Linked DNA regions of Homo sapiens: region 1 is linked to region 2. Evidence: promoter capture Hi-C in human tissues and cell types (Jung and others, 2019). All regions are on one chromosome and are shown on one strand. The core of a region is centred on a gene start or on the middle of the fragment in contact, and the rest is flanking DNA. Distances in the headings are between cores, read along the strand shown. Region 1 overlaps ME3 (malic enzyme 3). Region 2 holds the start of ME3 (malic enzyme 3).

Evidence for each region. The method cuts DNA at HindIII sites, captures the fragments that hold promoters and counts their contacts. A contact is called where the count stands out against the background at its distance.
Region 1: a contact is called between a fragment that was not itself captured here and the fragment with the promoter of ME3 in region 2, in 2 of the 25 tissues and cell types used here (adrenal gland and neural progenitor cells).

Annotation. Positions count from the first base shown.
Region 1 is chr11:86,591,271-86,593,970 of GRCh38, reverse strand. All of the region lies in intron 2 of ME3 (malic enzyme 3), which reads left to right. Among named protein-coding and RNA genes, the nearest start is that of ME3, 80 kb to the left of the region's middle. The HindIII fragment of the contact is 4,062 bases long and covers 1-2,700 here.
Region 2 is chr11:86,671,317-86,674,100 of GRCh38, reverse strand. ME3 (malic enzyme 3) reads left to right here and starts at 1,485. Exons shown (of 15, transcript NM_001161586.3): 1 at 1,485-1,777; 2 at 2,143-2,339. The coding sequence starts at 2,157. The HindIII fragment of the contact is 8,709 bases long and covers 339-2,784 here.

The DNA.
Region 1 (2,700 bases), core at 105-2,604, 80 kb after region 2:
TTATAGTTCAATCTGAAGAAAAATCAGAAACAAAAAGTTTTGTGCTCATTACAGCATAATTCATAATTGTGGAAGTTTGGAAACAATTATATAAAACAGGAATTACTAGATAAAGCTTGCTGTGTTTTTCTGTTTTTTAATAACATTTTAGGCTGAAGTTTTAGTATGTGGGAAAATGCTAATCATAACATTTTTAGTGGGGAAAAAAGACTAAAAAATTTTATACATAGTATGATCTCAAGTTTGTTTAAATAAAATTTTTTTAAGCATAGAAAAAAGATAGGAAGAAAATAGAACAAAATGATACAGTGGCTATCTCTGGGTGATGAAAATAAGGTGTGGTTATTTTTTTCCAACTTTTCTGTGCGTAATATTACTTTCAAACTTGGGAGAAAATGTATCAGAAAATTCCTATTGAACTTAGGGAGATGGAGGTCGGGCTTGTGATCCAGTTCTGCAACTTACTGGTTGTATGCTGAAGTTCTGGAGCCTTTGTGGGGCTCATATGATATATGTGAAAGTATTGTTTTACGAAATATTAAACATGCAACCCAAGTAGGAAATGATAGCTGTTGCTGTCCTTACTATTCTTGCAGCATGTGACACCTTTCGAGAAAGTATTCAAAGCATCATGAGATCCTTTTATGACAGGTGTTAAAATTCCAACAGGTTAGGAATGACATTGTCACTTCCTGGAGGGGGAGCCTACAGTTTCGTGTTGTACGGTGCCTGGTATGTTGCAGGCAGTAGCTAACTTTTACTATGTGAGTGAAGGAGGGTGGAGGAAATCATGGGTCTTCCACATTCATTTGTCAGGGTAACAGTGAACTATAACCCTGGCATACAGAAATGAGTCATTTTCCTGGCAGTGAGCCAAGGCCACAGTCATCTCCAGGAAGCTTCTTTGTTCTCTTTTCATACCCAGTCATGCTGAAACCTTGTAACCCCATGCAGAGGGGTCTGCATTTCACCAGGTTAATAGATAAGGGAGCTGAGGCCTATGGAAGGTTAAATAACTGGCTCACAGTCACACACTTAGTAACCCATGGAGCCAGGACTCAAATGCAGGTGTGTTTGATGCCTGCGTTCTGTGCTCTCCCCCATCACTGTGCCCCTTTCTGAAGGAGTGACTAGGTGGTATATTCCCCAAATCTTGCTAAGTTTGGGGGTTCCTGGGATATTCCAGACTGAGCTGTTTTAATTTCTTCTGTTGTTGCTAGTCAGAAACAAGGAAAACTTGACATCTCTAAATCTGAGTGGGAATTGGGTAAAATGCTCCTTTGTTGCTGGCTTAAGTAGTAACCCTTAGATAAAGGGTTTAATTTCAGATCTGGAGACTGACCTAGTTGCATCCAGCAATTGTCTATGAAAACCTTGCCTTCTCACTGGTTACAATGAGATTCCCAAACACTGTCTCTATGTTTACCTAATTAAACTCACACTTCTCTCCCCTCAGATGTAGTAATGAAGTCACTGTGGCTAGAGGAACATGGGTTTTGTGAAGTGCTCCTTGACATTTGCTTCCTTGAAGATGGATTCCATTTACATTATTCTTCCAAGTGGTATTTTGTCAACAAAGCTCAATAGTCATTTGAGTTTAAATAGCCTATTTCCCCCCCTCAAGGCCTAAGAAACTGGCTTTGAGCAAGTGGTGAGAGCTGAGTTATTGGGAACTTTGTGAAGCAATTGTCTGGTGCTTTAGAAAAAAAAGCAGCAGCCTGGATGTTATAACCCAGGGACATTCTTGTTCAAGTGATTGAATTCCCAACACACCTGGCCATCATTGTCACAGTGCCCATGTCTGTAATGATTAAGTAGGTTAGTGGAGAAGCTGGACTAGCTGGAACAATTAGAACAAAGAATGTGGTCCCAGTTCTCAGGTGGTGACTTTTTTCTCTTAGACCAGACAGGCTTGGACTTCACGTGAGATTTTCTTCATAGGAAGTGTATTAGTTTGCTCAGGCTCCCATAACAAAACACTGCAGACTAGGTGGCTTAAACAATAGAAATTTATTTTCTCACAGTTCTGGACTCTAGATGTCTGATATGGTTTGGCTGTGTCCCCACCCAAATCTCATCTTGAATTCCCACGTGTTGTGGGAGAGACTCGGTGGGAGGTAATTGAGTCACAGGAGCAGGTCTTTCCCATGCTGTTCTCATGAAAGCAAATAAGTCTCACGAGATCTGATGATTTTAAAAAAGGGGAGTTTCCCCACAGAAACTCTGTTTGCCTGTTGCCATCCACATAAAATGCGACTTGCTCCTCCTTGCCTTTTGCCTTGTGAGGCCTCCCCAGCCATGTGGAACTGTAAGTCCATTAAACCTCTTTATTTTGTAAATTGCCCAGTCTTGGGTATATCTTTATTAGCAGCATGAGAACAGAGTAATACAATCTCCAAGATCAAGATACTGACAGGTTTGGTTTCTCCTGAAACCTCTCTCCTTCGCTTACAGATGGCCACCTTCCTGCTGTGACCTCACATGATCCTTGTCCCTCTGTCTGTGTTGTCTGTGTTCTAATCTCCTCTTGCTATGACACCCATCATATTGGATTTGGGTCCACCCTAACAACCCCATTTTAATGCCACTGCCTTTTTAAATGACTTATCTTTAAATACAATCATATTGTGAGGTACTAGGGGCAAGCACTTCATCTCATGAATTTTGGGAGGACCCAATTCAGCCCATAACAGGGGCCTG
Region 2 (2,784 bases), core at 236-2,735:
GTTAATACTATTGGTTGCACACAATCACACATCTGACACAAACTGGTTTAAGGCAGAAAAAAAGATCATTTATAAGCTTATGTAAATATGCAGTCCAAGAGTAAACCTGACTTCAGGGATGTAAACCCTACTGGATGAGAATCTTCATGGATGGGGCCTGGAAAGCTGTATTTTTGCCCCATCCTTATTTCCTACCAGGTAATTGTAATTCTGTTTTGGAAATAACTATTTTACGTAGATCATTCAAGTTGAAAATTAGATATTACACAGGGAGGAGAGAGACTGCAGGAGGAGACGATTATTCCTGAAGGGATGAGGGAATCCTGAACTCAGGCAGGAGCACCCCTTAGCACATTATGGGCCATGATGTCTGCTTGGTACTTACAACGGGGCTAATGCTGGCACCGGGAGCTTTGAAGGGGTGTCAGCAGAGGACCGTGCCAACTGTCTGTCAGTAAGTCTAAGGGTTCACGATCCTTATGAAAGTGGCTGCCACTTCCCTTCACCTAACAACTATTTATTGTGCAACTACATACCAGGCAGTGAGCTAGGCAGTGAGGACACACAGGTTCACAGGCAAAGAGCCTCTCTTCATGAAGCTTACATTCTAGACAGGAGATAGTCAGTAAACAATCAGAAAAACAAGCGCGCTACTGACTGTGTTAAGTTCTCTAAAGAGAAAAACCCCTTCACTCTATAGTTCCTAGTGCAGGCTGACATTGAATGGGATAGAGGAAAGGCCTTCGAGTTGACAACTTAGTGGAGAACTGAGAGGTGGGAATGAAGTAGTGGTTTGCAAGGCTGGAGTATGAGCCTTCCAAGGAGAGGCAATAGCAAGTGCAAAGGCCCTGCAGTGGGAGGGAACCAAGTGGGGTGAAGACACAGGAAGGATCAAGTATGGCCAGAGATCAGTGAGAAGGAAAGAGTAGAGTAGGATAAGTCTGAAGAGGCTGGCAAGAGCCAGTTTATGGGAAATCTTGTAGGCCCTGAAAGTTTGGATTTTATTCCACACACAACAAAGTGTTTGCTTTAAAAGGAATCTCCTGACTACTGTGTGGAGAAAGTATAAAATTAAGTTTGGGGCTAGATGGACCCCAAGATCCCTGTCTGGCCCCAATAACCCATGGCAAACTCCATGGGGTCCTCAGAAGTCCTCTTAGTAACTGTGGCTCCTATGTCAATGATGCTTAATAGAAGTATCCGCAAAAACAGAAATGTTCTGTATCTGCATACAAGTGGCTCTTGAACTGGAAATGTGGCTAGCGTGACTGCAGAACTGGATGTTAAATTTTATTCTATATAGACTAATTTATTTACGTTTATATAGCCACACGTGGCGAATGGCTATTATATTGGACAGCACAAGGCAACACTGAGCACCGAATGCCTGAGGATTTCTACTCCAAATCCTGAAGGCACGCCCTTCCCCGAATGTTGGGAGAGTGCGAGGATATGCTGACCCCCAAACGCAAATCCCCCTCTGTGCATTTAGTCTTGCCAAGATGGAGAGTCTCAGGCGGGCATTCTGAGCTGCTTCTTGTCACTGGGGAAAACCACGTGCACGCAGTGCTGAGGCGCCCCACGCGCGTCCTCAGGGGAAGCCAGGCACTGAGAACAAAGGTTGTGGGACCGCTCTTTGAGGAACTCACCAGCTCCGCGAGCTCGCGGCCGCCAGCGCGGTCCACCCATTGGCGGGAGAGGACTCACAGACCGCAGCTCCTCACCCCGCCTGCTCCGCAGCGGGACCGCGTAGACCTCAGCTCCCCGAGCAGCGCAGGTGGGCCAGGGAAGGAGAGGACCGAGGCAAGCCACCACGCGGGATTAGGGGTACGGGGACCCCTCGCCGCGCAGTCGCCTCTTTTTCACAGGGATGGGGGCAGGGGTGGCGCCGGCTGTCACCCGCACCGGATCTGCTTCCAGGGCTTGGTTTCGCTTTGCCTGGCTCTTGGCTAGGCCTGGCGCCCCGCGCGGAGCCGAGCAGGTGGCAGCCGAGGAGTGGCGGGGGCTGGAACATTTAACCCTTTGGGAGCACCTGCCCTCTCCCAGAGGGCGCGTCCCCGGATCAGGCCCGGTGCCCCGCAGCGCGCGTGGGTCCTGGCTGGCTGGAAGGAGGCCCTGACCTTGCTTTCTCTCCCGTGCCAGGTCTGCCAAGGACCATGGGTGCCGCGCTGGGGACAGGCACGCGGCTGGCTCCCTGGCCGGGCCGGGCCTGCGGCGCCCTCCCGCGCTGGACACCCACCGCGCCCGCCCAAGGCTGCCACTCCAAGCCTGGCCCGGCGCGCCCTGTGCCCCTGAAGAAGCGCGGATACGATGTCACCAGGAACCCTCATCTCAACAAGGTAATGGGCCAGAGGGCAGGACGGCCCGCGTTGCGATCCCGTGGCTGCCGGAAAATTGCGCCCCGCCCCCTGGACCCAGAAAGGATCCTCCCGGGCGCCCTTCCAGCGGTTTTTCTGTTTTTGCCTTGCAGGGGCTTGTTGTGACTTGGTTTGGCTTTCTTGTCCCTCCTCTCCCTTTTATGCGTGGAGAGAGGCGACCAGTAATGCAGGGAGCCTAATTTCTTCTGCAGTAACAACACAGACCAGGTTTAGATCCTCGCGGTCAGTCTGACCTGCGGTCAGCTCTCCCCTTGATGCTTACTAATTTTATTGGTCTTGGGCAGTTCATTTAACCTACATGAGCCTAGGTTTCCTTATCTGTAAAAGAGATATAATTGTCTTAGGAATGTCGTGAGATCTAAAGAGAAAATGCGGGTAGAAAATGGGGGTACGTTAGAACAGTGCC